Linked DNA regions of Homo sapiens: regions 1, 2 and 3 are each linked to region 4. Evidence: promoter capture Hi-C in 16 types of primary human blood cells and fetal thymus (Javierre and others, 2016). All regions are on one chromosome and are shown on one strand. The core of a region is centred on a gene start or on the middle of the fragment in contact, and the rest is flanking DNA. Distances in the headings are between cores, read along the strand shown. Region 1 overlaps AFF3 (ALF transcription elongation factor 3). Region 2 overlaps AFF3 (ALF transcription elongation factor 3). Region 3 holds the start of REV1 (REV1 DNA directed polymerase). Region 4 holds the start of CHST10 (carbohydrate sulfotransferase 10).

The links. The method cuts DNA at HindIII sites, captures the fragments that hold promoters and counts their contacts. A CHiCAGO score of 5 or more calls a contact.
Region 1: a contact is called between a fragment that was not itself captured here and the fragment with the promoter of CHST10 in region 4, in 1 of 17 cell types (M0 macrophages). The highest score is 5.2, in M0 macrophages.
Region 2: a fragment that was not itself captured here is called in contact with the fragment with the promoter of CHST10 in region 4 in 1 of 17 cell types (M0 macrophages); the score reaches 5.1 in M0 macrophages.
Region 3: a contact is called between the fragment with the promoter of REV1 here and the fragment with the promoter of CHST10 in region 4, in 6 of 17 cell types (monocytes, fetal thymus, erythroblasts and 3 more). The highest score is 13.2, in monocytes.

The regions. Positions count from the first base shown.
Region 1 is chr2:99,565,258-99,567,957 of GRCh38, forward strand. It overlaps AFF3 (ALF transcription elongation factor 3), which reads right to left. Exons shown (of 25, transcript NM_001386135.1): 20 at 230-366. Among named protein-coding and RNA genes, the nearest start is that of REV1, 77 kb to the left of the region's middle. The HindIII fragment of the contact is 3,586 bases long and covers 1-2,700 here.
Region 2 is chr2:99,586,497-99,589,196 of GRCh38, forward strand. AFF3 (ALF transcription elongation factor 3) reads right to left here. Exons shown (of 25, transcript NM_001386135.1): 16 at 658-782. Among named protein-coding and RNA genes, the nearest start is that of REV1, 98 kb to the left of the region's middle. The HindIII fragment of the contact is 2,150 bases long and covers 314-2,463 here.
Region 3 is chr2:99,488,582-99,491,281 of GRCh38, forward strand. REV1 (REV1 DNA directed polymerase) reads right to left here and starts at 1,436. Exons shown (of 23, transcript NM_016316.4): 1 at 1,236-1,436. RefSeq lists silencers at 911-990, 1,061-1,160, 1,271-1,940 and an enhancer at 1,374-2,259. The HindIII fragment of the contact is 11,070 bases long and covers 1-2,700 here.
Region 4 is chr2:100,416,265-100,418,964 of GRCh38, forward strand. CHST10 (carbohydrate sulfotransferase 10) reads right to left here and starts at 1,404. Exons shown (of 7, transcript NM_004854.5): 1 at 1,110-1,404. RefSeq lists silencers at 900-1,049, 1,060-1,509. The HindIII fragment of the contact is 2,675 bases long and covers 1-2,143 here.

The DNA.
Region 1 (2,700 bases), core at 13-2,512, 850 kb before region 4:
TCCTCCCTCAGCAATTGGGGGCTACAGCAGCTGCCCCCCTTGCTCACGGAGGACAGAGGGGGCAGGGTGTGCCAAGACGCCTTGCACGACCTTACCCTCTTATTTTGGGGGGATGAACACTGGTTCCTGGTGGGGGATGGTGCAGGCTGACATTCTTTTCTCTGTAACCATAGTGCTTCCACACATTCCTCACTCCTCCCCTCATCCAGCAAGAAAACACGGTGCTTACCTGATGAGCTCTACTGTTTCTGAATACATCGTATAAGGAGATTTGGATTCCATGGGGCCTTGTTCCATTGCATTTCCACACTCGATAAACGACAATGCTGCTTCAGCATAGTTCAAAGCCTTTCCAAACTTTTCCACCTGATCAACAGAGTTAATACAGTGTCTTCCTAAACAATAGTTTTTTTTAAATGGCATTGTCATGTAGTTTATACACCTTATTTGAGAAACCCAACTCTGACTTCTAAAATCCTATGAAGCTGAGAGAAGAAAGAAATAGAATACTTCTTTTCCTACTTATTTTCTCAAACTGCTACTGGCTTGGAGTAAGTGAGCGAACAGTTATATACAGAATTGTATCAAACCCATGTGACAGCTGTCAATCAACAGAGCTCAGAACTGCATGGCTGCTCTGATTTCTGTTTCCCTCTTTCTAACCCCTAATGGTTTGGCGACTTCATTCCTTGTTCCTCCATGCTATGCTAAATATGCATCAAAGTTGGTAGGTCTGGTCCCATATAAGAGTTTTCATACTTCTTTTGGTACATCCCCAACTTGGATGGTTCTAGGCCTTGGTTATTATCTTTTACATTATTTGTGGCACTTATATCTCCATGCCTTCCTCTTCTCAATTTTTTTTAATTTTTTTATTTTTGAGATGGAGTCTCCCTGCAACCTCTGCCTCCTATGTTCAAGCGATTCTCCTGCCTCAGCCTCCCACGTAGCTGGAATTACAGGCAGGCATAGGCCACCACACCTGGCCTCAATTGTTTTTTTTTTTTGTTGTTGTTAATATTTAGAACCTCACTTAAGAGTGAGAGTGAGTAGGGGAAAGGAGAGGAGATAAACCTCAAGGAGCTATTTCAGCTTTGCTAAAATAGGACAAAAAGTTGAAAATTATTAATAAAAATGATTTTTGGTTGGGCCTGGCGGCTCATGCCTGTAATCCCAGTGTTTTGGGAAGGTGAGGCAGGAGGATCACTCGAGCCTGGAAGTTTGAGGTTCCAGTGAGCTATGATCGCCCCACTGTGCTCCAACCTGGATAACACAGCAAGACGCTGTCTCTAAAGGCAAAACAAAACACATTTCTACGGGATTATCTGTAGCTGTCGAAATTTGTGTTATTCTTTCCCCACATCAGCAAGGGCAGCCACAAATCAGCTTTATATTCTTAAGATCTCATCAGTCTAAACTTATGCATCAAGTTCCTGGTTCCATACCTTACTACTCTTTGTAGGTAATTACATATTCTAACTCTGGATTGCAGAATCTCCCCAGTTTTCAAATGATTCATTCATCAATTAAAACAGAATGACATAATACTCAAATACTATTCCAAGTCTTGCCACTAAAAATACAAAAAAAACTTCATTAGTAATGATAGCTTCAAAACCAGAAATGCAGAGCAAAACTTCCTCTCCTTAGCAAATCAAAATTTTAAACTGCTTATAAAGGTAGTGTAGGCTATAATGCAACATTTCTTTTTTCTTTTTTTTTTTTTTGGAGACAGGGTCTCACTCTGTCACCCAGGCTGGAGTGCAGTGGCATGATCTTGGCTCATTGCAATCTCTGCCTCCCGGGTTCAAGCGAGTCTTCTGTCTCAGCCTCCCAAGTAGCTGGGATTACAGGTGTGCACCACCACACCTGGCTCATTTTTTTTTTTTTTTTTGTATTTTTAGTAGAAACAGGGTTTCACCATGTTGGCCAGGCTGGTCTCGAACTCCTGACCTCAAATGATCCACCTGCCTTAGCCTCCCAAAGTGCTGGGATTACAGGTGTGAGCCACCGTGCCTGGCCTATAATGCAACATTTCTTGATAACACTTTCAGATGAAGTCATTTCATTTAGTATTAATATTTCCTAAAGCACCCAATTCTGTGGTATGTGCACTCCACAAGCGAAAGCTCTTTCCAGGAACATATAATAGACTTGGAGAGAGAAAATGTACACCTACAAGACAGTTCAAAGTGCAAGGCAGTCTGTGATTACCCAACAAAATACAAAATGAGGCATCCAGTGCAAATGAGATGGAGGAAAGTGAGCTAGTGATGGGGCCGCAGAGAGGCTGGGAAGGCCACAGGGAGGAGACTGAATATGACGCCGGGAAGGAATGGTAGGGTTTGGCTAGATTTGGGGAGGATGCTGAGGGTGTGAGTGTGCCCATGAGAGTGTGTGAGAGTGAATCTCTGCAGGTGCAAAGGCCCGCTGGCTGGCAGGAGCAAGGTGTGCTTAGAGGTCAGTAGGGGACCAGCCTGGCTGGAGCAGAGTGTCTCCTCTTGGGAAATCGTCAACAGGAAAGATAGGGTTGGGCAAGAGGACAATGAATGAATAATGCTGTAAACTTTAGATGCTGGATTCAGGCAGAAAATCTCTTTCTCCTTAAAAATCTGATGCTCTTCTCCAAGAGTGGCCATTCATTGGCTTCTCCAGATGACCAGAACTGTCCATCAGACTCAGATTGTGTGGACAAGAGCT
Region 2 (2,700 bases), core at 139-2,638, 830 kb before region 4:
TGTCTTAGAGAGGAAAAGTGGTTTCCGTGCTGTGGTATTTCAAAATGGAAAGAGCTTCTACGACTGATGATAAGCTACTTGTTTCTAATAAATACCTGGGATCTTGCTTTGCTTGTAAGCCATTCATCACAGAGGGGAGTCAGTGCTGGATGCGTCCATCTGGAACCTCTTGAGAGGAGTGTGTGGGTGGCCATTTAACCTTGGGAGCACGGACCCTTCTAAGGCCACAATTTTAGTCTATATCCAATTAATTGCTTTAGGTGCTACACATGGAGATTCAGCTTGAAGTGTGTATTTCTTCGTCTGTGTAATAAGCTTAGTGTTCTTAGGAGTTTAGCGGTTACCATTAAAATATTGATTAGAAATTCAGTTATTAAGTTTTTTTGGGGGAAGGGCATGTCTTGGGGAGTGCAGAGCTGTGTGTAACTAGTATCTGGTCTTTGGTTATGGAGAAGAACCTTGCGTGAGTATCTGGAGCTATAATGTGTGGCACATGTGTAGCCATAATAATAAGATTTGGGTTAAAGGAGGGAAGCAAGTCTGCAGACCTTGACCAGAGTAGTCCTCAAAAAGCCTGACCCTCCTCCAACATAGCAGGTGACTTTCAGACCCAGAGATCTCTCCAGCTCACTTCCACTTTGGAGGGAATGCACGTACCTGTTGATGTTCATGTTGCAGTGGTTTGCAGACAAAGTATTACTGGTGGAGGTGGCCAGTCTTGAAGAGCTGTCTTTCTCTCCCTGGGACTTCTTGATCTCCCTGTAGTCGTCTTCGTTGTCACACTGTATGGGAATAAACTAAAGTCAATCAGCACTGGATTTCAAGAGGTATTATGAGTTCCCAGGCACCGACTTCCACAGAGCAAGGCCTCCTGGGAGCCCCACTCACCTGGCTTCCCCGAAGCACAGCCTGAGCAGCTGTGCCCCTGCCATAGCTTCCCCATTAGCTCCTCAACAAGCAAGGATGAAATCTGTCAGTTTTACAATTGACAGCTGATGGAGAGGAGAGGCACGACGCCATGATTCAACATTTTGAATTCTGAAAGCTGCTCTGCCATCAACCGGCTTAGGATTTAGCCCTCCAACTGGTCTGAGTTCCCACTGCAGCTCCAGCGGCACTCACCTTGGCATTTCTTGGTATCAGAATAAAGTACAGCAAGTGTGTGTTCTCTGGGATTCATGCCATAAGGGCAGTGGCAAGCCTGGACTTTTCTGTTTTAAAAATTCTTGCTTTGGCCAGGTGCGGTGGCTCATGCCTGTAATCCCAGCACTTTGGGAGGCCGAGGCAGGCGAATCACGAGGTCAGGAGATCAACACCATCCTGGCCAACATGGTGAAACCCCATCTCTACTAAAATACAAAAAATTAGCCAGGTGTGGTGGTGCACGCCTGTAGTCCCAGCTACTTGGGAGGCTGAGGCAGGAGAATCGCTTGAACCTGGGAGGCAGAGATTTAAGTGAGCTGAGATCACGCCACTGCACTCCAGCCTGGTGACAGAGTGAGACTCCGTCTCAAAAAAAAAAAAAAAAATTATTGCCTTTTGTGAACTGCAAGCAGAAGCTATTATCTCTTGGTGCCTTAATTCTAGTTTTCAATTACTATCCCATGACATCTTAGAATCCATAAAGTACCTTTTTCTAAAACAGTACTTTGATTGGATCCTTGTTGCCATGATTGGGTTTAATTTTATTTGTTTATTTAGAGACAGTCTTGCTCTGTCACCCAGGCTGGAGTGCAGTGGTGCGATCATGGCTCACTGCAGCCTCGACCTCCCAGGCTCAGGTGATCCTCCCGCCTCAGCCTTCCAAGTAGCTGGGAATGCAAGTGTGTGCCACCATGCCTGGCTAATTTTTTGTATTTTTTGTAGAGACGGGGCTTTGCCATGTTGCTCAGGCTGATCTCAAACTCCTGGGCTCAAGCGATCCTCCCACCTTGGCCTCCCAAAGTGCTGGGATTACAGGTGTCAGCTATCAGGCCAGCCTGTGTTTAACTTTAGATATGTGTTAAGGTGCAACACAAATATATTCAGAAAGTACCATTTTCCATGAGATAACAGGAACCTAGTATGGTATCCTCAGGGCTGTCTGCATTGTTTTCCAGGAGACAAGTGCCAACACCAAAGAGAGAAAGACTCTGACTTTCTCGCTCTGGCTGGGATTTTGCCACACAGCCTCTGCCACAGGGGCTCCCAGATGCCCACACTGTAATAGTACCCCCATGGAGGGCCCAAACCAAAGCTCCGAGTTCTTAGTCCTTAGCTCCAGGGCTCCAGCAGGGCGAGACTCCACAAATTTGACAGCCAGGTCTATGGGGTCCCATCTCCAGCACCCAGTACTGGGGTACTAATGCCCAGAATACCAAGTAAAGAGCACTATAAGAATGTTCTTTCACTTCTCTTGTGTCTGTGTTTAATGATTCTTTAGATTTTATGAGTACAGCCAGGTGTCAGGCTTACTGTAAATGAAGCTTCTTAAGTTAAAATAAAAATGGCCATAAGTAATACAACTATTTAAACACAGAATATTACGGAATTTTATGTAAGTCTTTCTGCACATCTCTCTAGTAAACTCTGCATGCCTGGATGGCTTTATGTATTTCCAATCTGTCTATATATTACCAATGTCTATCTCTGCATATTTCATGTGTATATTTCCATCAGCGTATTCAGTTAGCCATCCATCCCAGAGGTAATAGCCACACT
Region 3 (2,700 bases), core at 186-2,685, 930 kb before region 4:
AAGAGGAACTTTAGGTGAGCTCTTAAGTGTCCAGTACAGGAAGGCAGGGAACAATACGCAGCACTGGTCCCTGCACGGGCAAACCCAAGAATATGTGTGAAAGGTTGGTGGACAGATAGATGGTTCCCACAGGCTGATTTGCTACATACAGAACTCCATAGAAAGAACCAAGGTTATGGTTGGTCCTACCCTACCTAAACAGGAAATGGCTTATTCTCGGAGACTAAAGTGCCAAGTCCGGAAAGACCAGACAGATACACAGAATTACAGACTGTTACATAAAGTCCTTAATAGTTACAAGCCCTTGTTGTGCTATGTGCTAGTCTGCATTATTTTCACCTAAATGAAACCATTTCTACTTAGTACATGGCGTGAGAAGACGTGGAGATAAAGAGAATTAGCAGACGTATATTATCTGCAATTTATCTTACGGAGGAGTACATTAAGGAGTGTTATGTGAGATTATTTCTTTACAAACTGAGAATAGGTAGGAAGAGCAGCGAAACACAGCGCGGCTCGGTGCGCCCAGAGCGGCGTCACTGTAACAGTACAGAAGTGGGCAAGGGGCTCTCGGAAGGACAGTTGGGGAACGGCGCCCAGCGTATTTAGCGAACGGACAAGCAGCAAGGAAAAACAAGGGAGCAACAACCGCCTTCGGACATTCCGACCGGTTCTGGGATGCACCGGGGACGTCGAAGGCGGGGTGCGGAAAAACGCTGTGGCTGGAGTGCGGGTGGGAGCGGCGGCTCGACCGGGTCGACATTCTACAAACGCTTGTGGAACGAACGCCCGAACGCGCGCGTGAATGAATGGCGCGGAACTGAATGGCCGGCCGAGGCGCCGGCGCAGGAGGAAGGAGTTTGCGGCGCGGTCTGACCGGGCCGGCGGGATGCGGCCGGGCGCGGAGGGAAGGGCCGCTGCGCCAGGGGTCGGCGCGGGGCGGCCCATGGGGCTGGCGGCGGCGCGGGGCCGGCCGCGCCATGACGGAAGGGAAGGGGAGGGGAGGTCACACATTACATAACCCGGCGGCTGCGAGCGTCAGGGGAAGGCGCCGTGGACAGCCCAGGCCGCGACAGGACGGCCGCGGGCCGGGGCCGGGGCGACGCACCCCTCCCCCGCGCCACCTCAGGCCGACCGCGCTCTGGCCGCTGCCGGGCGGGTCTGCGGCGCCTCCGGGCGACGCGTGTCCGATCCCGCCCCTCCCCCACCCCGCCGCCGGCCCGGGGGTCGCTCACCTTCCGCGTTGCCCCAGACCACCATGCCCGGGCCCGGCGGCCTTCTCCGGCCTTGCGGACCCCGGCCCCGCCGCCGCCAGTGCCCTCGCCAGGGACCAGGGAGGAGGGCCGGGGGAAGGCAGCCCCACCGCTGAGCAGCGCCGCGGTCCACGCTCCCCCACGCTCGCGGCAACCAACCCCGCGCGCGCTCCGCGGTGGCTCTCCGCCCCTCCCCCTCCGGTTAGCGCGCGCGCCGCAGCCACGCCCCCTAGCGTTCCGCGCGCGCTCCCCGGCCCCGCTCGCGCTCACAGCCGCGCGGCGCACGCGCTCTGCTCCCCCCGGCCCGGGGCGACCCCAGCCTCGGGCGTAGCACCGCGGCGCCCGGCGTCGGCCTCCGTGTTCCTCCCCTCCCCGGCCCCGCCCTGTTGTTCTGCAGCCGCCCGCAAGGGGCAGCGCCTGGGCGGCACGTGACCGTCTCGCTAGCTGGGCGGAGGGGAGCGCAGCGCGGGCCCGCCCACGCACTGCGCCGCCTGCCCGCCCGTCCTGCTCCGGTCACCCCCGCGCTTCGTTGACCGGGTCGCGGCTCTTCGGTTGCCATTCGGACAGCGCGCCGCTCCGTGCACAGCGAGTCCCCGCGCCTGCCCCGCCTTGGGGCTCCCCAGTGGGGAAGGACACAAGTGCAGACACTGACCGGGCTTCAAACCCCGGTACTGTGTGAAGATGCGCCAGACGCCCGGGTTCCCTCCTTAAGCAATTGATTTACAGTGACATCTAGTGGAGAAAGGGACACACATGAACTGACATTTTCCTATGTCCAGAGCAACCGAGAACCACGGCCCACTCAGGTTCGCGGGAAGGAGCACTGCGCCACGGCGTTTTCGGGATTCGTGGCCTGCTCCCGCAGGGCACAGACACTATCTTCTGTCCTTTGAGTGCCCGGGCAGCATTGCGCCTGAGTATTTGTAAACGGAGGGCCGGTATCCCATCCCATGTACAGCGCTGGAGTTACCCGAGAAAGCAGTTTTCTATGAATATAAAAATAATATCCTATATTATGTATGCGTAAGTACAATTCTAATTGAGGGCCTTCTAGCAGAAAACAATCCGTCCATAAGGACCACTTTCTCCCTCTTGGCAGGGTCGCTTTGAAGACTCCACATTGTTACATAATAGTCTTTATTGTTGTAATGCACAAACATGAAGATACTTTTTTCCCACTCATTCCCTTGCCTAAAATGCTTCAGAGTTTGCAGGTACTTAGGAAACAATCAGTATTCTTTTGAAAACTGATTTGCAGAGTTGGAACTTGTTTACTAGCAACACAGAGAATACTCAAATAGCTCATTTCTTTCCCTTTCAGTTTTTTGCCATTTTATAGACTTCTATAAATGCACTTCAACTTCAGTATTCTCGTCGCTAATCCAACGAATTTAGATTGCATACTTTTCAAAGACGTCATAATTTAAAACAAATTGCGTAATTGCTT
Region 4 (2,700 bases), core at 154-2,653:
AATATAACTGCAAGTTGCCTGTGATGTTTACAAATTCTTTCCTTTCTTTGTTCAGTTTTGCAAACACTCCAATTTTCATTTCAGCGAAGAAGAGAATTTTCTGCTCAGGTATTTCTTTGAGATTCTATTCTTCAGGGTCAAGAGCAATTCTGAATTCTGAATTCCAATTCTGAGCCAAGATGGACTAAGCTCTTAATTATAATGGGGAGGGAAGGGAAAAGACCACTTCTCTCTTTGTGTCTTTTCATTTTAACCCAGTCACTGAAAAGAGTGAAGGAGGAGGTGGTTGGTTATCAGAGAGCCAGAGCTAAACTGAGCTGCCTAATTTTAACAGCGTCTGAGACATTTCTCACTCTGGCACTCTAAGCAATGCAATAACCCAACTCCTCATGGCCCAAAGCCCCAGACTCTGGTTTTCAGACAAAACAACAACAACAACAACAACAACAAAAACCCACCGTTATGACAGTCCTGCCGCTGAGCTAACCAGAACCTGGCTGCACTACTTTCCATTCACTGCCCAACCCTTTCCTGCCTTGCAGACTTGGAAAGCAAAAATGACATTTTGGAAAACCTGGTTCACCTTCCCAGCCAGAAGTGCAGAACTGCATGCCTCAACCTCCAACTTCGGACAGGCCTCCTGACAGCGAAGATCAGAGGCTCAGGGCACCCCGGGGCCCCTCAGGCAGGGAACGTGCATTCCCACCCCTGACTCCCCTCGCACCGAAGCTGCACATGCTCCTTCTTCCCTGCCTTCCTCTGCATGCTCCTTGGACCCAAGCTGAACCCTTTCTTCCTCTCTCCATCTACAATTACAAACGCAAATTCTCAGCCAAGGATGAAAGAAGTAAATTGTAGGCTCGCACAATATCAATAATTCCGCGGGTCACAGCATCCCGCACAAGGACGCCTTCTTATTGCATAATTAACGCGAGGAAGGCTCTTCCCGCTACTCCCGCGAACTAGGGAGGTCTTCAAGTCGCCAAAACACACCGGGATGTGGCTCGCCAGGACAAAACCCGCGGGTTCCCCGGTTTTTCCGTGCGCCCCGCGGCGGGGAGAGGGGCCCAGGCGCTGAAACCCACCCGCCTGCGCGTCCCCGAGCTCACCCTACTGGAGCGGCGCTCGTCCGGGTCCTTAGGCTCCTCCCCTGGCCCTGGGGGCGCCGCGCGGGTCGGGCTTCGCCGGGCCTGTGGGCGAAGCGCGCGGGGTCCTGGGAGCTCGGGAGGCCCGCCCCACCTTGCCCCGAGGCCTCCGCGCCGCGGCCCGTCGGGTCCCGGGATGTGGCGGCGGCGGCAGCGGAAGTAAGGAAGACGCCCGGCGCGCTAGACCGGCTTTGGGGGCCAGAACGCCGGCACCGCCTCACGCGGCCCCCTCGCGCCTATCCGGCCGTGCGCGCCGCCTGCCCGCGCGCGTCCCCGCCGCCGTCCCCGGCCGTGCGCGTTCCAGCGGGTCGCGGGGAGTGGGGAGGGGCGCGGCCGCGGGACCCCAGGCCCGGATCCCGAGTCTCCCTTTCTGCCGCTGCAAAAGCGTTCTTTCTGACCGAGACCTGCGGCCGGAACAAGTCCCGCTGGGCCTCCATCCAGAAAACAGGTTCGCTTTTTGAGAAAGAAAAAAAATCCCAAACTTGGAAAAAGGCAAAAAACCAAACCAAAACAACAACAAAGTCACACACACACACAAAACCACCTTGGAAAAATACAAAAAATAGATAAGTAAATTTCTTAAATCCCCAACTTGGAAAAAGGCCACTTGCTTGCGTTAAGGGTAACTTCTAGCATTTTCTAATAAGCCTACTTAGTAAAAGGGGGACGTTCTATTCTTTAAAGAACCCCCTTGGCTGTCCGGGTTGGGGATGTAACTGTTGTCTAGGTACAGTGGATTAACGAAGGACAATGATAACGGCCTGACCAGTTTACAGACCTGAAGAATTGTAACTTCTTAACCTGCAGAAATGGATAAGGCCTGAGTCAACCTCAAAGGTATTGGGATTTTATTGCCCCAAAGAAGATAAACTAGTTTTATTTTTATACAACCTACATGTTTGTTAACTACCCGACTATATCTGTGTCTATTTAGCAAACAAGTAAAATAGATACGTGTATGTATACACACACACACACACACACACACAATTTTTCAAAGCTTTCAAGGAACAAGCGTTTTTGTTTTTGTTTTTTTTCTTTTTTATTGGTTCCCTCCTTAATGAGTTAATAATATTGAGGGAGCTGGCTGTTTGAGTATTTCACTTCTAGCCCCATTACTAATCATGGTTTAAAGGTTCTGTCCCTCATGCAGAAGACGTTTACTGAGCCCTTTTTTGGGGCCCTGTGGTTGAGATGAGACATTGGGTTTCCCTTTGAGGATTTGAATCGATACACGTGCACGGCAGAAAAGAAGTAAGTAAATGTGAAGCTTGGATGTGATGCAGCATATTATGCAGGATTTAAGGATCAAGGCTCTGGGAATCAGACCACGTGGATTCAGAGCCTTAGTCACTGCATATGACTGTTGACCTTGTCACACTCTCATCTCTCTGTGTCCCAGTCTTCTCATCTACAGAATGTGGTACTAGGCCGGGCGTGGTGGCTCACGCCTGTAATCCCAACATTTTGAGAGGCGGAGGTAGGTGGATCACCTGAGGTCGGGAGTTCGAGACCAGCATGACCAACATGGAGAAACCCTGTCTCTAATAAAACT